Linked DNA regions of Homo sapiens: all the other regions are linked to region 3. Evidence: promoter capture Hi-C in 16 types of primary human blood cells and fetal thymus (Javierre and others, 2016). All regions are on one chromosome and are shown on one strand. Each heading gives the region's core, a stretch centred on a gene start or on the middle of the fragment in contact. The rest is flanking DNA. Distances are from core to core; before and after follow the strand shown.

What was found. Contacts are between HindIII fragments. The CHiCAGO score rates a contact against its expected background, and 5 or more counts as called.
Region 1: the fragment with the promoter of ALOX12B here is called in contact with the fragment with the promoter of SPDYE4 in region 3 in 4 of 17 cell types (erythroblasts, total CD4 T cells, naive CD8 T cells and 1 more); the score reaches 7.2 in erythroblasts.
Region 2: a fragment that was not itself captured here is called in contact with the fragment with the promoter of SPDYE4 in region 3 in 1 of 17 cell types (neutrophils); the score reaches 5.3 in neutrophils.
Region 4: a contact is called between a fragment that was not itself captured here and the fragment with the promoter of SPDYE4 in region 3, in 2 of 17 cell types (total B cells and naive CD4 T cells). The highest score is 5.6, in total B cells.

What each region holds. Positions count from the first base shown.
Region 1 is chr17:8,086,347-8,091,509 of GRCh38, forward strand. ALOX12B (arachidonate 12-lipoxygenase, 12R type) reads right to left here and starts at 1,370. Exons shown (of 15, transcript NM_001139.3): 1 at 950-1,370. The coding sequence starts at 1,096. MIR4314 (microRNA 4314) reads left to right here and starts at 1,710; the gene lies at 1,710-1,801. RefSeq lists an enhancer at 398-1,146. The HindIII fragment of the contact is 26,367 bases long and covers 1-5,163 here.
Region 2 is chr17:8,127,443-8,132,870 of GRCh38, forward strand. No RefSeq gene overlaps it. Among named protein-coding and RNA genes, the nearest start is that of TRG-GCC2-6, 4.4 kb to the left of the region's middle. The HindIII fragment of the contact is 6,180 bases long and covers 1-5,428 here.
Region 3 is chr17:8,755,192-8,760,425 of GRCh38, forward strand. It overlaps SPDYE4 (speedy/RINGO cell cycle regulator family member E4), which reads right to left and starts at 3,355. Exons shown (of 7, transcript NM_001394956.1): 1 at 3,083-3,355; 2 at 2,071-2,301; 3 at 1,187-1,245; 4 at 329-414. The coding sequence starts at 3,191. The HindIII fragment of the contact is 1,936 bases long and covers 1,880-3,815 here.
Region 4 is chr17:8,055,774-8,061,332 of GRCh38, forward strand. No RefSeq gene overlaps it. Among named protein-coding and RNA genes, the nearest start is that of ALOX15B, 19 kb to the left of the region's middle. RefSeq lists enhancers at 1,904-2,421, 1,905-1,974. The HindIII fragment of the contact is 2,579 bases long and covers 1,379-3,957 here.

The DNA of each region.
Region 1 (5,163 bases), core at 120-2,619, 670 kb before region 3:
GGGACAGGATATTGACCTGATCATTGAGCTTCCTTCTGACTTCTCCAGCTTGGGGGTCTCCTACTGGATTCCTCTACCCAGGGCTATGTAGGACTCCAGCCCCTCCTTCTCTCCATCCCCAGCTCCTGTCTTCTCCCACTCCCCTCTCCAGGCACCTGAGGTTGCAGGAACCCTTCAGACCCCTGGGGACTTGGGTACCACTCTACAGTTTTCGAGTGGGGAGAGGCCCAGCCAGCCCCTTCTCCCATTCATCAATGAAGATGCAGATATTCAGAATGGCCACATAGATAGAGTGACCTATTAAGGTCGCCTAGCAGCAGGTGGCTGGGTCTGACTGAAAATCAGGTCTGAGGACCCGCAAAGCGTGCCTTCCACTGGACAGGCTGGTCTGATGCCATTTTAAGTCACAGAGAATCCAGTGCAAATGTGAGACAGTTAGGAGGCAGCTGAATTAGGAAGAGTGACTGAGAATGGAAGAGAGAGGGATGCGGGAGAGGGGGTAAGACAGAAAGGGGAGGAGAGCAAAGGGGAAGGAAAGCAGGTGGAAAGGATTGAGAAAAGAGAGATGCAGGATAGGCAGAGACAGGGAGAGAGGGCTGAGGAAGAGGGAGAGAGAAGAAAAGGATGGGGAGGGAGATGAGGAATGCCTGAAAGGGTTAGAGATGAAGGAGCAGGATGGAGAAGGATGGCCCAGAGATCTGGGACATGGGCGAGGGGCTGGAAGCCAGCTCTGGACAAGGCGTGTAGAGCCACTGGGGAGCCCACTGCCTTCGGAGCTGTGCCTCAGCTCTCCAGCCTCTCCTCGCCAAGCTCAGCTCACCTGGCTCCCCCTGCGCACCTTCACCCCTCCCGGGGCCACAAAGACACACAGACACACACAGACACACACAGACACACACACACACACACACAGACACACACACACACACACACACACACACACTCTTACCGCCCCAGTTGCAAAGTCTCTCCCAAAGTGGTTCAGCAGCTGCTTATGGCTCTCTCCTTGTGTCCCCACAATGGTCAGTGAGATGGAGTCCCGTGTTCCCGACAAGAGGTCGGTGCCTGTGGCCACCCTGACTTTGTAGGTGGCCATGGCTGCTCTTCAGGAGGCAAGAGGGGCACTCAGTCCCAGACACCGTGGAGGGGCCACACGAAGGCCCAAGGCAGGCAAGAGAAGCCAGGCACAGAGTGGAGTGGACAGGGCTGGCCTCCGAGGTGCAGTGGTGAGGTGGCGAGGTGGGGTGACTAGGCCTGCCAGCCAAATTCTGGAAAAGCTGCTGCCCTTGGTGGCCGGGGTGGGTGCCGGGCAGGCCCAGGCGGAGCCCAGCTGGTGGTGAGTGAGCAGGTGTCTGGGCTCCAAGCCTTCTGGGAGCTGGTGGGGAGGAAGAGCAGGCAGGGCACTGGGCCTGCCTCTGAAAGGGCGGATAGAAGATGCCGTGGATGAAGGCGCCTTCAGGGTGGGGGAGCCAGTCCAGCCTGAGCCAGGGCCCTAGGGAAGTTGCGGGAGGGGGCAGGGTGTGGTCCCCAGATCTTTATCAGACTAATAAGCTCCTTCCTCCTGCCAGTCCCCATTGGCTACAGTGCCAGGCACCCCTACTAAGCAGGGCCATGGGCAGTGAGTGACTTGCATTGGTTCTGAGGCCACTGGTGGGCGGGGGAGGGGAGGGGGAGGGGCACTAAGTGGCAGCGCAGCTGGCCAGCCTCCAGGCCATTCCTCTCTGGGAAATGGGACAGGTAGTGGCCACAGTGAGAAAGCTGGCCTGTCCTTCTGCCCCAGGGCCCAGAGTCTGTGACTGGAAGGGTGGGAGGTGTTGAAGCTAGGGCTCGGGGACCACATGGGTGCCCAAAGGCCTGAAGATGCTGCGGGGAGGAACGATCAGGGTAGGAGAAGGGGATCTGTTGCTTCCTGTGGGGCCAGGATCCACTGGTGAGGGATTGGAGTTGGATATAAAATCAGAAGCCCAAAAAAAAAAAAAAAAAAACTAAATTAGAAGACAGAGTGAAATCTGGGGCATAAGAATTAAGTTAAATAGCTGGGCGTGGTGGCTCACGCCTGTAATCCCAGCACTTTAGAAAGCCAAGGCAGGTGGGTCACCTGAGCTCAAGAGTTCGAGACCAGCCTGGCCAACATGGTGAAACCTTGTCTCTACTAAAAATACAAAAATTAGCCAGGCGTGGTGGCATGCGCCTGTAGTCCCAGCTACTTGGGAGGCTGAGGCAGGAGAATCGCTTGAACTCAGGAGGCGGAAGTTGCAGTGAGTTGAGATCGTGCCACCGCACTCCAGCCTGGGCAACAGAGCAAGACTCCGTCTCCAAAAAAAAAAGACAAAAGAATTAAGTTAAATAATGGATTAATATGATCAATATTTTGTGGTATAATCATAAAATAGAATTCTACCCAGGAATAAAAAGAATGAACTGCAATGCGGATGAGTCTCACAAAGATGATACTGAGCAAAAAGAGCCAGACATTAAAGGGGATACGTTCTGTTATCCATTGATAGGAACTTCCAGAACCAGCAAAACTGAGCAATTCTCAGACAACCTCTACTGGTGAGTATCCCTGGCAGAGGGAGGCCATATAGGCTGCTGGAGGTGTTCTTATCTTGATCTGAGGGGCGTCTAGGGTACTTCATTCATTTCATTATGTGTTATCCTTTAATTTCATAAAGTACATACCCTCACTTCCCTCCCAAAAAAGAATGAAGCTAGGAAGAGGGCTGGAGGCAGGGCTGAGCTCCAGTGGAACTGTGTTTGTTGGGAACCAGGTCGTTCCTCCCTCAGATATGTAGTGAGCACGGTGCACGGCGTTCTAGGCACTGCAGAGGCAGAGAAGAAATGAAACATACATGGAGCTTACGGAATAGCTGGGAAAGAAGTGAAAGAAACAGTAAACAAGAATTTGTTCACTATAATTTTGGATACTAAGTGCTCTGAAGAAAATAAGCGTGGGAGGTTGGGATTGGGAACTAGTTGCTGATAGAATCACAGAAGTCAGAGCCGCAGGATAGGGAGAAGGTGTTAGGAGTAAGGTGAAGAGCATTATGAGAGAGTCAGAGATAGACTCTCCAAAGATAGGATTTGGGACCCAGGGAGAGTGAGGAGGCAGGCACGTTCCTATTCCCTTTTTCTGGACCTGTCCTCTTTCCTTTCACCTCCGAGGAGCAGCTTCTGTCAACCAGGAAGCATAGCCCTGCTTTCCTCCCTGATGGCACGCTTCCATCACCATCGAAGGAAGGTCATTCAATGCCCAGGCCAAGTTAGGGTCAGAGGGGGCTGGGATTGTGAGATGAAGAGAAGGTTCCAGTAGGTTCCAGACTGGATGTGGAATGGGGTCGAAACTGCAATTCAGGTTTAGGTTAGAGACACAGATGTGGCTGGAGTTGGGGATTGAAATGATCTTTTCCAGACCCAAATCTGTTCACATCACTCTCTATGTTCCCTCCTCCCAACCCTGATCAAGCCTGGCAGTGGCTCCTCTTTACCTTTGGGACAGTGACACCATCCCCTCCCGTGGCCCCCACGGCCTGCCTGATTGGCTTCACCCCTCACATTCCCCTTTGCTCTCTTCTGTCTGGGACCACGTGCCTTTCATTCATTCATCAACAGACACTGGCCGAACCCCTACTGTGTGTTCAGCGCTGTGTCAGGTCCTGAAAATACAATGCGATCAAAGCAAACCCCTGCACCCATGGAGCTTGCCTTCAAGTGAGGGAAGCAGACAATATTACCTAGTAACCAAATACATTAAATAGTATGTTAAATAGTGATAAGTGCTGAAGAGAAAAGAGAGAACAGGGAAGGATAATATAAAAAATAGAGGAGTGCCGGGCATGGTGGCTCATGCCTGTAATCCCAGCACTTTGGGAGGCTGAGGTGGGCGGATCACCTGAGGTCAGGAGTTCGGGACCAGCCTGACCAACATGGAGTAACCCCGTCTCTACTAAAAATAAAAATTAGCCGGGCATGGTGGCGCATGCCTGTAATCCCAGCTACTCGGGGGCTGAGGCAGGAGAATAGCTTGAACCCAGGAAGCAGAGGTTGCAGTGAGCCAAGGTCATGCCATTGCTATCAAGCCTGGGCAACAAAAGCGAAAATCCATCTCAGAAAAAAGAAAAGGAGGATATTTTAGATACAGAGTGGCCAAGGAGGGCTCCTTGGGAAGAAGACTTTTGAGTAAAGACCTGAAGGAAGTGAAGTCAGCTCGTCACCATCCCAGGGCCTTGGCACATGCTGTTCCCTCTCTACCTCTCAAACTGAGGTCACGTTTCCTCTTCCTCCTGATCTTAGCTCAATAATTGCTTTTTCCAGGAAAGCCAAATTTCACTATACATGGCTCTCACAGCACTATAGCTAACATCTTTGATTGATGTCTGTTTTCTCTAATAAATTAGTCCATACTTTTTTTTGGTTTTGTCCCCATCTCCTGGTGTCATACTTGGTACCTGGGAGACACCGAAAACATAGTTGAATGGGTTAATGACAAGGACAAGGTCAGGGCTGGGGATTGAATCGATGATGGCTTTGGAGTTATGGTGAAGATCCGAAGAGAGCTGACTTGGGCTCAGGGTGAGAGAAGGGGCAAGGCGTGGTGTAGGGGAGGGAAAGGGGTTGGGTGGGGAGGGAGGGAGGAGAGGGGAGAAGGCTGAGGATGAGGGTTGTGCCCAGCTCTGGGTGGCAGGGCTGGCTGTCCTGGGCTGCAGACAGAAGCCGTCCAGCTGGATCTCCCCCCTGGGATCTCCCTCCTCAACCACCTCGATGACTCTTGGAGGATGCTGGGAGCCTGAAGATGCAAATCTTAAGATGCAAATTCCATGCAAATTCTCCCAGCTTCCTCTTTCTAATCTCTCCCCTTTGCCCTGTGTCCCCAGGGGGCTGCTGAGGCTTGGTGAGAAGCAGGGCAGTGGACTGGGCAAACTGAGTCATATCCTGCTACCAATAGGTCTCCTCCAACCCAAATCCCAGGGTGGCCCTGGGTTTGCTCAGGGCTCCAGTGTGGAGTGGGAATTAGGTTCCTGAGGGAGACGGAGATGGAGGCAGGGATGCTGAGGATGTCAATGTGGCTGGGGCAGGGACAGGGACGGGATCAGGCATGAGGATGTAGATGGGGCACTCCCCAGCTATGACCAAAACGTAGACGCGTGACTCTTGATAGGTGCT
Region 2 (5,428 bases), core at 1,505-4,004, 630 kb before region 3:
TCAGATTAGAGAGTCAGGCGTAGCCCATCCCACAGGATCTTGGAGAGTATTGAAGGAATTTGGATTATAACGGCAATTGGAAGCCAGTGGGGGATTTTCATCAGCAAAGTTATATTCTCTGACTGATGTTTTAAAAGATCACTTTGGGGCCAGGCGCGGTGGCTCACGCCTGTAATCCCCGCACTTTGGGAGGCCGAGGCAGGTGGATCACCTGAGGTCAGGAGTTCGAGACCAGCCTGCCAACATGGGAAACCCCGTCTGTACTAAAAATACAAAAATTAGCCGGGCGTGGTGGCACACGCCTGTAATCCCAGCTACTCTAGAGGCTGAGGCAGGAGAATCGCTTGAACCCGGGAGGCGGAGTTTGCAGTGAGCCGAGATCGCGCCACTGCACTCCAGCCTGGGTAACAGAGCGAGACTCCGTCTCAAAATAATAATAATAATTAATAAGATCACTTTGGACCGGACGCTGTGGCTCACGCCTGTAATCCCAGCACTTTGGGTGGCTGAGTCAGGCGGATCGCTTGAGCCCAGGAGTTCGAGACCAGCCTGGCCAACATGGCGAAACCCTGTCTCTATTAAAAATACAAAAATTAGCCGGGAGTGATGGCGTGGGCCTGTAATCCCAGCTACTTGGGAGGCTGAGGCAGGAGAATCGCTTGAACCCGGGAGGCGAGGTTGCAGTAAGCCGTAATCGCACCACTGCACTCTCGCCTGGCCAACAGACCCAGACTCTGTCTCAATGAAATAAAAAAGAAAAAAGAAAAAAAAATTAGCCAGGGGTGATGGTCCGCGCCTGAGAGGGGAGGCTGCAGTGAGCCAAGATCGCGCCACTGCTCTACAGCCTGGGCGACAGAGCGAGACTCTAGATAGATAGATAGATAGATAGATAGATAGATAGATAGATAGATAGATAGATAAAATTAAAAGATCGCTTTTGTTGCTATTTGGAGAATGAAGGCAGAGGGCTCATTCAGGGGGCTGAAGCAGTCTTTTAGGCAATGCCTTGAGGTGGTGGTGGGGAGAGAAAACATGAAGGGGTTACTCCTAGGTCTTTGTCTTAGGTAAGATCATGTATTTGCTTAACGTGCGGATATATTCAAAGAAATGCGTTGCTAGGCAATTTCATTATTCAGACATCACAGAGTGTAGTGATGTAAACCTAGATGGTAGAGCCTTCTACACACCTAGGCTACACTATACAGCCTATTGTGCTCCTAGGCTGCAAACCTGTACAGCTACAGCATGGTACTGTACTGAATGCTGGAGGCAATTGTACACAATTGTAAGCATTTGTGTACCTAAAAGGTAACGCATGGCACTACAATGTTATGATAGCTATGCCATCTTTGGGTGATAGGAATTTTTCGGGTTTTTTTTTCCTTTTTGTTTTGAGGCAGAGTCTCACTCAGTTGCCCAGGCTGGAGTGCAGTGGGGCGATCCCGGCTCACTGCAACCTCCGCCTGCCGGGTTCAAGCGATTCTCCTGCCTCAGGCTCCCGAGTAGCTGGGATTACAGGCCTGTGCCACCACACCCCACTAACTTTTGTATTTTTAGTAGAGACGGGGTTTCACCATGTTGCTCAGGCTGGTCTCGATCTCCTGACCTCGTTATCTGCCAGCCTCGGCCTCCCGAAGTGCTTATCACCGAGCCTGGCGATAAGGATTTTTTTTTAGCCCCATTATAATCTTGCTCTTGTTGCCCAGGACGGAGTGCAATGGTGGGATCTCGGCTCACTGCAACCTCTGCCTCCCGGGTTCAAGCGATTCTCCTGCCTCAGCCTCTCGAATAGCTGCTCGAATATCTGGGATTACAGGCATTAGCCACCACGCCCGGCTAATTTTTGTATTTTTAGTAGAAACAGGGTTTCACCATGTTGGCCAGGCTGGTATTGAACTCCTGACCTCAAGTGATCTGCCCGCCTTGGCCTCCCAAAGTGCTGGGATTACAGGCGTACGCCATTGCATCCGGCAATCCCCATTATAATCATATATATATATATGCAGTCCATCATTGACCAAAACATTGTTATGCAGCGCATGACTGTAACTGGGTAGACGGTGGTGGTGGCTTTTAACTGAGATGGGAAAACCTGTGGGGTCGGGGAGAGGTTTAGGAAGAGAAATCAAGCATTATACTTTAGCCATATTAGTTAAGACATCCTGGCCAGGCGCGGTGGCTCACTTCTGTAATCCCAGCACTTTGGGAGGCCAAGGCGGGTGGATCACGAGGTCAGGGGTTTGAGATCAACCTGGCCAACATGGTGAAACACCGTCTCTACTAAAAATACAAAAACTAGCTGGGTATGGTGGCATGCGCCTGTGGTCTCAGCTACTCCAGAGGCTGAGGCAGGAGAATCTCTTGAACCCGGGAGGCAGAGGTTGCAGTGAGCCTAGACTGCGCTATTGCACTCCAGCCTCGGCAACAGAGGAAGACTCCGCTCAAAAAAAAGATATCTAGGTGGAGGTCACACATAGGTTAGGGATATACAAGTTTGGAGATCAGAGCTGGAGGGTAAATACGCTGGAGTGATTGGGAGATAGACGTCTTTTAATGCTATAAGACTGGAGCACCTAGAGAGAAAATGTGGCGGGAAAAGACTGAACATGGGCCGGGTGTGTTGGCTCATGCCTGTAATCTTAGCACTTTGGGAGGCTGAGGCGGGTGGATCACCTAAGGTCAGGAGTTCGAGGCCAGCCTGCCCAACATGACAAAACCCCGTCTCCACAAAAAATAGAAAAATTATCTGGGCATAGTGACGCACGCCTGTAGTCCCAGCTACTCAGGAGGCTGAGGCAGGAGAATCGTTTGAGCCCGGGAGGCCAAGGTTGCAGTCAGCCGAGATTGAGCCACTGCACTCCAGCCTGGGCATGAGAATCTGTCTCAAACAAAAAAAAAAGAAAAAAGAAGAAGAAGAAAAGAAAAGGCTGAACATGGACCTCTGGGGCACCCCAACACCTAGAGATTGGTTGAGGAGGAAGAATTGGCAACGGAGACTAGAGCGGTCAGAGAGGCAACAGGAAAACCAGGGGGAGTGGGGTGTTCTGGAAATCCAGAAAAGAGGGTGTATGAAGAAGGAGATTTTGCTATCTATTCCACAGCATGGTTAGTAATAACGTATTGTATATTATGAAATTATTAAAAGTCTATTTTAAATGTTCTCACCACGAAAAAATAAATAGATGAGGTGATGGATGTGTTAATTAGCTTGATTTAATCATTCTACAATGTATCCTTATATGGAAACATCACATTTTACCCCATAAATATATATAATTATTTGTCAATTAAAAATAATAAGTGAGGCCGGGCTCAGGGGCTCACACCTGTAATCCCAGCACTTTGGGAGGGTGAGGTGGGCAGATCAGGAAGTCAGGAGATCGAGACCATCCTGGCTAACACGGTGAAACCCCGTCTCTACTAAAAATACAAAAAAGATTAGCCAGGCATGGTGGCAGGCACCTGTGATCCCAGCTACTCGGGAGGCTGAGGCAGGAGAATGGTGTGAACCCCGGATGCGGAGCTTGCAGTGAGCTGAGATAGCGCTGCTGCATGCTAGCCTGGGCAACAGAGCAAGACTCCATCTCAAAAATAATAATAATAATAAGTGAATGAACACTTTTTTCTTTTTTTAACCTGTATCCAACAAGAATAAGTAATTTTTTCCTTTTTCTTTTTTCTTTTTTTGAGACAGAGTCTCAAAAGTCTATTTTAAATGTTCTCACCACGAAAAAATAAGTAGATGAGGTGACGGATGTGTTAATTAGCTTGATTTAATCGTTCTACAATGTATCCTTATATGGAAACATCACATTTTACCCCATAAATACATATAATTATTTGTCAATTAAAAATAATAAGGGAGGCCGGGCACAGTGGCTCACACCTGTAATCCCAGCACTTTGGGAGGCTGAGGTGGGCAGATCTCAAAAAAAAAAAAAAAAAATTAGCCGAGCATGGTGGTGGTGCCTGTAATCCCAGCTTCTCGGGAGGCTGAGGCAGGAGAATTGCTTGAACCCGGGAGGTGGAGGTTGCGGTGAGCCGAGATCATGCCACTGCACTCCAGCCTGGGCAACAGCAAGACTCCGTCTCAAAAAAAACAAATTGTGCATACCTTCGGCATTTCACTGCAACTGACAAAGGCCAGTCTCTACTCTGGCTGCTCCTGCGGCCCGTCCATCACATCACCACTCATCCCCAGTGTTACAGTGGCTGGCTGTGAGCATTTTGGGGGATCTAGCTGTGGAGAAGGTGAGTTGGATTTGTGGGATACATTTAGATGATTTGTAGTCACTTCCATATATAGGTTTTTTTTGTTTTGGGGTTTTGGTGTTTTTGTTTGTTTGTTTTGCTTTGTTTTTGAGACAGGGTGTCTTGATCTGTCTGTCCCCCAGGCTGAAGTGCAGTGGTGGGACTGCAGCCTCAACCTCCAGGGCTCAAGCAATCCCCCTACATCAGCCTCTGGAGTAGCTGGAACAACAGATATGCACCACCACACCCAGGTATTTTTTTTTTTTAATTTTAATTTTTTGTGAGACTGGGGTCTCACTATGTTGCCCAGGCTTGTCTCAAGTGATCCTCCCATCTTGGCCTCCTAAAGTACTAGGATTACAGGCATGAGCCACGGTTCTCAGCCAATATTGAGTTAAGTTAGCCTCCTCATCTAGGGTAGGAATGGCTTCCAGGGATACTCCTATTTCCTTTGCCCAGTCACTAGGCTTCGTGCTGGAAGTGTGCAGGGCCAGAGACACATGTGATATGAATGTCTGATGGCTCTTGACATTATGAGTCATGGGTGGTAGAGGAGAAACAAGATTTGAAATATAGAGAGTTAGCAGCTAGTCTATGGAAAGTGCTATAGAGGTGTGTGGGCAGTAAGTACTACAAATAGCTGGCTGGGTGCAGTGGCTCACATATGAATCCCAGCACTTTGGGAGGTCAAGGCAGGTGGACTGCTTGAGTCCAGGAGTTTGAGACCAGCCTGGGCAACACGGTGAAACCTATCTCTGCTAAAAATACAAAAAAAAAAAAAAATTAGCCAGGTATGGTGGCCTGTTCCTGTTTCAGCTACTTGGAAGGCTGAGGTGAGAGAATCACCCGAGCTGGGGAAGTCGAGGCTGCAGTGAGCTGTAATTGTGCCACTGCACTCCAGCCTGGGCAACAGGAGTGAGACCTTGTCTCAAAGAAAAAAAATTAAAACTGTTAAGTTATTTTTCTGGACAGTGTGAAATTTTTGCCTTTTATTTTATTTTATTTTTACTTATTTATTTTTGAGACGGAGTCTTGCTCTGTCGCCCAGACTGGAGAGCAATGGCGCCATCTTGGCTCACTGCAACCTCCGCCTCCTGGGTTCAAGCGATTCTCCTGCCTCAGCCTCCTGAGTAGCTGGGATTATAGGCGCATGCCACCACGCCCAGCTAATTTTTGT
Region 3 (5,234 bases), core at 2,105-4,604:
AATTGCATTTGGTGTTGATATGGGAAGGAGAGAGACGAGAGAACCAGAAATGGCTGCTTGCTTGGGGAGCAGGGTCGTGTCCACGGCTTTCCTTTCCCCTTAGGACGGGTTTATGTTTCCTTTTGTTTGATTCTACTATTTGTCAACTGCATTTGTGTTTGTTTTTAGAAAGAACAGACTAAGAACACCATAGTATAATCTTATCGTTTTTATATACAGAGTAAAGAGGAGAAGTAGGGTAAAAAAATAGATGGAAGGTTGGAATCCCACTTCGTCCACTGTCCCAGGGTGTTGGATATTGACAGATGGGAAGAAGCAAACTACTCACAGAGCCAGGAAGAAATGAATGCGTTGGTATTGCCACGAGAAGAGGCCGGCACGGCTAAAATACGCTATGACCATAGCCAGGAGATACTGATGGAGAGAAGGGAGTAGAGAGAGAGAAAGGTTGGTCACATCCTGGAAGAGGAAGATGGTGGAGAGAAGGGAACAGGGGCTGGGGCGCGGTTGTCTATCACAGAAGGAACCTCAGTGTTGGGTGACTATGCTCATTGGGGGCTTGCGGGTGGAGAGTGTTCAAAGTCAGCTGCAAATCCGGGAAGTCGGAGGGAGGGAGGTCTGTGATGCTCCCATGATGATGAGCTCCAGTGGGATCACTGGAGGGAGAGTGTCTAGGGCTGCTAATGTCAGGAGGGTCTTGGTGAGCTGGGGCAAAGGACTGTCCCAAAGATCTGAGAGGATAGGGGTCAGGAGTTTCAAGACTGGCCCAGGGCCTGGATTCCAAAGGACCCTGTGCAGAGGCAGGGGCCACCCATCAACTATGCAACAGGCTACCAGAGCCCCGAGGGAGATGCTGACAAATTATGAGAAGACCTAGAATAGCTGGGGGCGGTGACTCACGCCTGGAGTCCCAGCTATTGGAGAGGCCGAGGCGGGAGGATCACTTGAGCCCAGGAGGCTGAGGCTGCAGTGAGCTATGATGGCAACACTGCATTCCAGCCTGGGCAACAGAACGAGACCCTGTTTCTGAAAAAATAAAAATCAAAATGTGGGCGCCCAAGAGTATGGAATCAGCAGGTGGGAGATGGTAGAGGGAGAGAGGAGAGAAACTGTGGGTTTAGACGCTGCACCCTTCCCCAGGACGTGTGTTAAAGCAGGAACACAGTTGAGTGGAGAACAACCTTACCTTGTCTGACACCCTCAGGTCTTTGTCCCAGGCCAGGAATTTTTGAACGACAGGATCCCCTGTGAAAAGAGAGCCTGTGTCAGGGTGAGAAGTGGAACAGGGTTGCCGTGGGAGCAGCAGAGCAGAGAGGAGAACTGTGTCCCTCTGGGGGAAGTCTCAGGATTGTGGCCAAGGCTTAGGTGGATGGGAGAGGAGAGAAGGACTTTCACTGGGCAAGGAGGGAGGCTCCCGCTCTGAGATTCCCCTGAGGAGAGGCCGAAGGAGGCCTCTGGTGTCAGAGTCTACAGGATGAAGAGCTGTGAATAAGCCATGATGTCCTCCCATCAGACAGGAAGGGACCACTGCAGAAGTCATAATAGAATTCCCATCATTGCTTCCTGAGATAGTCACAGCTGGGTGTGCCCATGGCCTTGTTATCCCCCTCCACGGATGGAGACACTTAGGTTTAGAAAAGTCATCAAGAGACATAGAGTTTCAGAGGGTACAGCTGAAACCAAGCTTTCTTTTATCTTTTATTTTATTTTATTTTATTTATTTTATGACAGGGTCTTTCCTTGTCAACCAGGCTGGAGTGCAGTGGTGCAATCATAGCTCATTGCAACTTCAAACTCCTGAGTTCAAGAGATCCTCCCGCCTCAGCCTCCCAAAGCACCAAGATCTCAGGCATGAGCCACTGCACCTGGCCAGAAACCAAGCTTTCTTATTTCAAGTGCAGACCTTTATTAAGACTAGCCTAATCCTCTATCTCCTAAGCATCCTCCTCCTGCATGGAGCGCTCATCCCCCAGGAGGGCATATTCTTCTTATTGGGAAAGTGTGATTATTGAAAGATTCCACTTTTTTAAAAGAACAGGGTTGGAGGTGCTTTTTGGGGTATCCTCCTACCAAGGAGCCTGTTGAAGGCCTCGTGGTGCTCAGGGAGCACGGAGGATGCTCGCTTTCGCTTCAGCTTCATCTTGAGCCCACACAGCGTCTCCACCACCCAGGTGTCCTCGGGCTCAGGGGCGCGCTCCAACTCCAGCTCCTCCTCCAGCTCCTCCTCGGATTCGTCTGACCATTCGCTCTTCCTTTTCAGGCCAAGGGATTGAGGCTGGGGGCTGGGATCTATCCAAGGGGCTGAGTGAAGAAACCAGGCCATGGTGTCATGTTTCTGCCATTGATCACCTTAGACGCCCCGACCCAGGAACCTCAAACTACTCTTCCATCCTCCCAAGCCTCGCAGACTGTCAGCTTCTCCAAGCCATGTTTCCACCTTTCTCCTTTGCTGATCCCCATCTGCCTCTCCCTCACCTCCCCATTCTTCCGGCTCTCTGTCCTCAAAACATTTCCTCATCACAGATAAGAACTTTCAATTGGAGAAAAATGGAAACCTTCCCTTGAGCTCTGTCTGCTCTCTCTCTCTCTCTCTCTTTTTTTTTTTTTTGAGATGGAGTCTCCCTCTTGTTGCCCAGACCGGAGTGCAGTGGCACAATCTTGGTTCACTGCAACCTCCGCCTCCTGGGTTCAAATGATTCTCCTGCCTCAGCCTCTTGAGTAGCTGGGACTACAGGCACGCACCACCATGCCCAACTCACTTTTGTATTTTTGGTAGAGACAGGGTTTCATCGTGTTAACCAGGATGGTCTCGATCTTCTGACCTCGTGATCCGTCCGCCTCGGCCTTCCTCTCTCATCTTTTGAGCACATCTCCTGACCCCCTTCATTGCTCCCCAGACTTTCTTTACACGTGGCCATGCTTGGCCCCATTCCCTGCACCCTCCTTCCCCGATCCCTGGCTTCCTGAGTCCGTCGTTTCTTTCCCACACACCCTACTCAGGTGCTTCAGATTCCCAGTAACTGGCCCCCTTCCCTCTCCTCAGTCAATCATCTCCCATCGCTTCTCCCTCCAGTCACCTCACCTGATGGTCCTGGCACTTCATCATCCACCACCACCTCGGGGGACCGTACCGTTGTGCTAGGCTGGGGGCTCTCCTCCTCAAACGGGGGGCGCGCTTGACCACTGGCCATAATCTCTCCCAAACACTTTGTTTCTGTCCACAAAACCTAGTCCCTGTTCTGTCCAAAGCCTTCTTCCAGACTCCGTTAGGACCCAGAAGAGTGCGTTTCTCTTCTAGAGGCTCGGGAGAAGTTAGGAGTGAAGAGTAGTTCTGAGAAGTTGCTGTTGTCCACCTGAACTCCCAAGCAACCAGAGTCCGGTCCTTCCAATCAGGAAAGTCGGAATCTCTGATGTCATCGGTCATTCCAAACTGGCAACTACTTTGAAGAAAAACACATGTAACTGCCAGACTGATCTCTTTTCTTGGAGATCCGGGGTGAACGGTATCTCCTGGCAATGTCCCAACCTCTGAGCATTGTCCAAAAGCATCCTCAGGGTCTCCACATTCCTCTTTTCCCTGTCCCAGCAGAGGCTGTGTCCTCTCCACTCTAAACTTGAGGGGGTGTTGGGCTCTCCTCCCCGCTTCTCCTTCCCATTTCAGAGTCTAGTCTGGTGAGAGAGGGAGGAAGGTGGAAGGAAATTTAGGGTAAGCAGAATGATGAGTCCTTCCAAGAGTGAGATTAACATATACAGGAGATCCTGGGTAAATTGACTTGTTGAATGGAGACGTTACGTCGAAGTACTCAATGTGGCAAAGCTTTTTTGCTGAATGTTTACTGATATTCACTATCCTGGATCCTATAGTAGGGGAACATGCATCCTTTGCTCTCAGGCATCTTTGAGTCCAAGAGACATTTTGAGGAATGAAAATCACAGGAGACTGTCCATGGTTTCGTACAGATTTTCAATGGTGTCCACAAGTTCAGGGCATCCATGGATCACCTAAAGCCTGCCCTCCAGTTCAGCTAAGGAACTCTGGTCTATATATCAACTATTACAACATATCTATTTCACTTGACCCCAAAATTTGCCTACTATTTATGTATTTTATGAATAAAATATCCTGTGTATAAAAAGACTAAGGGGAAAATCTCAGCCAGGCCCAGGGGCTCCTGCTCATAATCTCCCTCCTTTGGGAGGCCAAGGCAGGGCGTCACTTGAGGTTAGGAGTTCAAGATTAGTCTGGGCAACATAGCAAAACGTCATCTCTACAAAATATAAACAAAGTAATCAGGAATCGTGGCACACACCTGTGGTCCCAGTACTTGGGAGGCTGAGGCAGGAGGATTGCTTCAGCCCAAGTGTTTGAGGCTGCAGTGAGCTATGATTGCACCACTGCACACCAGCCTGGAGGACAGAGTGAGACTCAGTCTCAAAAATATTTTTTTCGGAAAAAATAAAAATGTAAGAGCTGGATACTATCTCAGATACCATCCAAAGAACCTGTGAGTTCTGGCACAGCTTCCTAATGGGCTCCTAGGAGTCTCTCGCTGATGGGAAAGGCACAACTGAATGAGGAGGCAGATCCCGTCGCTGTGGAAGTCCAATTGTTAGGAAACTCTGCTTACATTGAGTGGACCTTCGCATTCACGATGCTTTCAACCATCAGAACTGGTTGGATCCTTTTACAACAAAACAGAAAATCATCTTTCTCTCCTATTTAATAGGCTTTCAAACATTAGAAGATCAATATTCTGTTGCCATTAAAATTTCTCTTCTGTACCACGTAAAGTTCTGATTAATCACTCTTCAAGCCAGTTTTACATATTCCTCTGTCTTCTAGGCACCTTCTGTAGACAGGCTACAATAAGGCAGCCATCTTAAATTATGTCAATACATTGTCCAAAAATGAGCTAAACAGTTCAGGTTTCATCTGATATGTTCAGGGAAAAGCAAAACTATCACTTCTCCCCTTCTCTTTTCCTTCAGTGATGCAGGTTAATACAACAATGGCTGTAGCTATGCACCAAAGATATCATTAGAGTGAAACAGAAGGGCTTTATTGGCTGGCATGGTGGCTCCTGCCTGTCATCCCTACACTTTGGGAGGCCAAGGCTGGAGAATCACTTGAACCCAGGAGTTGGAGATGAGTCTGAGTAACGTTGTGAGACTCCGTCTCTCCAAAAAAATTTAAAATTAGCCTGGTGTGGTGGCACACACCTGTAGTCCCAGCT
Region 4 (5,559 bases), core at 1,418-3,917, 700 kb before region 3:
GACCATCTGGCTGAGTCGAATAAAATATTTGACTTGTGAACATTCTAATTTGTATGAACCATGTTTTTAATTTGTTTGAAATCCCTCCCAGGGTGGAGGGAGAGCTGCTTGTGCCACCCCAGAACAGTGCCTAGAACCCCAATCCCTTCTTCTCTCTGCCAGGTCCTCTTCCAGCCTCCTCTTTATCTTTGTGCCCGCCTTCCCCTCACCGCACCCCCATCCATGTTGGACATCCCAGGGGTGCCTTTGCTCACTACCCCAGGGAATGAGAAACAGACTCTTCTGTCCCCACCCGCATCCCCCACTGACCTAAGAAGGTGCTGAAGCCTGGGACAGAGACAAAAGTGGCAGAAATGGAGAGGGATGTGTGGGTTGAAATAGGGGGCTTGGATGTGGGCCCAGGTGGTTGAGGACCAGCCTACACTGTGCCCATTTAAAGATTAATAGTATATGCTTTAGAATAGTGCTTTACTAATATGATTATGAATCATAAGTATAATAGCTTGTGCTTAGTACAACAATAAGAGAATCAGGCGGTGAGCTTGCTTGACTGACCACAGAGTGGAACAAACAACCACAGGAAGTCTGCGGAGCCTCTGAGCAAGAAAGTTGGCTTATTGCTCAACCTTCCACTTGAGTGCCTGAACAAAGGTCTCATGGGAAGGGAAGCGACCCCTGCTCCATTACCCGGGAGGGTACTGCAGGAGGCTGCTGGTAAAAGAGGAGAAGTCCTCTGCAGTAGGGTTAAGGAGGAAGCCTCCTATCTCCCGCATGTTCCCAGAGGCAAAGCAGCTGCTCTGCTGACGGTGCTCAGGCGTTGACCACTCCTTTGATGTACAGGCCTGTGGGTTTGAAGGGCTGTTTGCTTTCACGTCCTGTTCTGTTCTATTAGCCGCTTAGTTGGACTCTGATGATTATCTGTAAGTTAAACATAGAGTATTAGCTTACGTAGTGGAACAGTAAATAGTATTAACTGGCTAATGACCGACACAGCAGGCTCCGCCACCTCTCCCTATGCTCACCCAATGATCACCTCACCATCAGCCCACCCTCAGCCTATAGGATCAAAGGAACTGTACTCAATAAATATCAGTGGAACCCAGAGCTCCTGGCCTTTGCAATCTCCACGTTGCGATGGATCCTTGGACCCACTTTTGTTAACTCTTAAACTTTGTGTCTTTGTCTTTATTTCTTTTCTCATTCCCTCGTCTCCACCGGGAAGGGGAGAGCCTGCGGGTGGTGTATCAGGCAGGTTCCCCTACATCTTTGGCACCCAACACGGTCTCCTTGAACCCAGGTGAAGTTACACCTGAGCGTGGTCGTTGTGAAGAACGGTCTGTCCAGGAACTCCCGAGAACGTGTGGTCGGCCTTGCGGTAAGCTTGTGCACTCGGAGCATTCCAGGGACACCATGGGACAATCCAAAAGTAAACATTCTGCATATTTACATTTTATTAAGCTCCTCTTAAAGAGGGCAGGAATTAAGGCTAGCACAGAAAATTTGATTACTCTGTTTCCAACAGTAGAGCAATATCGTCCTTGGTTTCCTGAACATGGTACCATGGACTTCAAAGATTGGGAACAGGTGGGAATTGCCTTAAAACAAGTTTGTAAGGAAGGAAAATTTATCCCCCTAACAGCCTGGTCAAACTGGGCTATAGTTAAAGCAGCCTCGGAACCGTTTCAATCGGAAAATGAGGCTTATCCTCCAGCAGAAAGAATTTCTGCAGAGGAAGGTGGTGATGCTGCTGAAGGAGGAGAGGATAGTGAAGAAGATTTTGAGGAAAATACAGACAAACCTGGAGATGAGTTAATTTCTTTTGAGGAGCACGTGGGACCTTCAGCTGCTCCTAAAATAGAGAAGCCATATATGCCAAGATGTTTAAAACAAAGAAGGGCCTTGAGGAGCAGTCGGCTCCTCATTGGGATCATCCGGAGTGGCCGCCTCCAATAAAGCAATGTAGCTTGGAGCCTTGGAGGTCTGAATCTCAAATTTGCCCTGTTTCACGAATGAATGAATTGTGGCCTCAGGAACCACGAGCGCATGGTGTAGCACCAGTACAACATAAGGCTGCACTGCCATCTAATGTTAATGAATCGCCATTACAGTTTACTATTCGGCAGGCTAGATTAGCCGGAGATCTTGATGCCTGGCAGTTTGCAGTAGTTTTGCAACCCCCACGACAGCAAGGTGGAGCCCATCAAGCGGTATGGGAACCATTTTCTTTTAAGCTGCTCAAAGATCTTAAAGCAGCTGTTGGTCAGTATGGTCCCAATTCGCCTTTCATCCGATCGCTATTGCAATCTGTGGCTCAGAATAAGCTATTGACTCCGTGTGATTGGGAGATTTTAACGAAAGTTACACTTTCGCCCTCCCAATTTCTTCAGTTTAAGACTTGGTGGACCGACGAGGCTCAAAATCAAGATCGAAAAAACCGTGCTGCTAATCCTGCTATTGCCATTACATTTGAACAACTTCTAGGAATAGGGGGTCAATGGGGAACTGTAAACAACCATCAGGACTTCGAGATGATGCCATTGAACAAATTCGCAATTGCTGTTTGAGGGCATGGGAGAAAATTCAGGATCTGGGAACTACTTATCAGTCTTTTAATTCTATTAGACAAGGCTCAAAGGAACCATATCCTGATTTCATTGCTCGCCTTCAAGACGCAGCACAGAAGGCTCTCACTGATGAAAGTGCCAGGAAGGCCGGGTGCGGTGGCTCATGCCTGTAATCCCAGCACTTTGGGAGGCCGAGGTGGGCGGATCACCTGAGGTCGGGAGTTGGAGACCAGCCTGACCAACATGGAGAAACCCCGTCTCTACTAAAAATATAAAAATTAGCCGGGCGTGATGGCACATGTCTGTAATCCCAGCTACTCAGGAGGCTGAGGCAGGAGAATTGCTTGAACCCAGGAGGCGGAGGTTGCGGTGAGCCGAGATCACGCCACTGCACTCCAGCCTGGGTAACAAGAGCGAAACTCCGCCTCAAAAAAAAAAAAAAAAAAAGAAAGAAAGAAAGAAAGTGCCAGGAAGGTGATTGTAGAATTATTGGCTTGTGAGAATACTAACCCTGAATGCCAGTCAGCTATTCACCCAGTGAAAGGAAAGGTTCCGGTGGGAGTTGATGTGATTAATGAATATATCAGGGCATGTAATGGAGTTGGTGGAATCATGCATAAGGCTATGATAATGGTTCAAGCCACGACAGAGTTAAAAGTGGGAGGTCCAATTAAAAACTTTTCAGGCAATTGTTACAATTGTGGGCAATTTGGACACACAAAAAAGGAACGTAAGAACAAATCGAACAAACAGGCAAGATATAATCAAATAAAAGAACCACCTGGCTTATGTCCCAGGTGCCAGAAGGGTAAACATTGGGCTAATCAGTGTCACTTCAAATTTGACAAAAATGGCCAACCGTTACAACCGCAGTCGGGAAACAGGAAGAGGGGCCAGCCTCAGGCCCCGCTCCAAACGGGGGCATTCTCACTCCAGCAGTTGGTCCCTCAGTCGGTCATTGCCTCTAGTCCAACCACCATCATTGTCTCTTGCCCAACCACCACAGTAACACAATTGGCGCCAGCTACAGCAGGGAGTACAGGCTTAGATTTATGTTTCCCAAAAGCTATCTCTCTGCTTCCAGGGAAATCCCCTCAAAAAGTCCCCACTGGAGTATTTGGCCCTTTACCTGATGGACAGTTGGACTTGTTTTAGGAACATCTAGTCTAAACTTAAAAGGAGTTCAGATTCATACTGGGCTGATTGATTCAGATTTTGTGGGAGAAATTCAATTGGTTATTAGTTCCAGTATTCCTTGGAGTGCAAACCCAGGAGATAGAATTGCTCAGCTGTTGTTATTACCTTATGTAATAGTAGAAAAAAGTACAGTAAAAAGAGAAAGTGGTTTTGGCAGTACTGACAGTGAAGGAAAAGCAGCCTATTGAGTAAATCAAGCTTCTAAAAACAGACCTGTGTGCACAATGATTCAGGGAAAACAGTTTGAAGGACTGGTAGACACAGGTGCTAATATTTCAATTATAGCTCTAAATCAGTGGCCAAAAGCGTGGCCCCGACAAAAGGCTTCTATGGGCTTGATTGGAGTAGGCACAGCATCTGAAGTCTATCAAAGTGCTACAATTTTACATCGTTTAAGACCAGATGGGCAGGAAGTCACCATCCAACCTATGATTACTTTCATTCCCATTAATTTGTAGGGGAGAGATTTGTTACAGCAATGGGGTACAGAAATCACCATTCCCCCTGCAATTTACAGTCCTGAGAGCCAAAGAATGATGACCAAAATGGGATATATTCCTGGGAAAGGATTAGGAAAAAAATGAGGACGGAATAACCCAGCCGATTGAGGTCTCAGTTAAATTTGACCGAAGAGGAATTGGATATCCTTCTTAGGTGCGGCCACTGTTGAGCCTCCAAAGCCCATTGCATTAAAACGGAAAACTCCAAAACCTGTTTGGGTTGATCAGTGGCCGCTTCCTCAACAAAAACTGGAGGCATTACATTCATTGGCAAAAGAACAATTAGACAAAGGACATATTGAACCATCTTTTTCACCATGGAACGCCCCAGTTTTTGTAATTCAGAAAAAATTCGCTAGATGGCGCATATTGACCGACTTATGAGCGGTTAACGCAGCCATTCAACCGATGGGAGCTCTCCAACCAGGGTTGCCATCTCCGGCCATGATCCCAAAAGAATGGCCGATGGTAATAATTGATCTAAAAGATTGTGTTTTTTACTATTCCTTTGGCTCCTCAGGATTTTGAGAAATTTGCATTTACAATACCTGCCATGAATAACAAGGAACCAGCTACTATATATCGATGGAAAGTTGTACCCCAAGGAATGTTAAATAGTCAAACTTTTGTTGGAAAGGTTATTCAGCTTGTCAGGGATCAGTTTCCTGATTGCTATATTATTCATTATGTTGATGACATTTTATGTGCTGCTGCAAGCAGGGACAGACGGATTGAGTGTTTTGCTAGGCTACAAGAAGTGGTGGGACTTACAGGTCTCGCTATAGCACCAGATAAAATCCATACTACACCCTATCATTACCTGGGAATGAGGGTACAGGAGAAAACAGTAAAGCCTCAAAAGGAGGAAATTCGTAAAGAGTCCTTAAAAACCTTAAATGATTTCCAAAAATTATTAGGGGACGTTAATTGGATAAGACCTACTTTAGGAATTCCCACCTAAGCAATGTCTAAACTGTTTGCTTTGCTGAGATGGGATCCAAATTCATGTAGCAAAAGAACTCTGATGCCTGCTGCAGCTGAAGAGTTACAAATGATTGAGGAAAAAATTCAAAGTGCTCAAGTCCGTAGAAGAGATCCTAGTGTTCCATTACAGCTCTTAGTGTTCCCTACTCTCCATTCTCCTATAGGAGTGATTGTTCAAAATGTTGACTTAGTTAAATTGTCCTTTTTAACGCACAGTACGACTAGAACTTTCTCAATTTATTTAGATCAAATAGCTATTCTTATAGGCCAAATACAACTGAGAATAGTCAGACTCATTGGCACCGATCGAGATA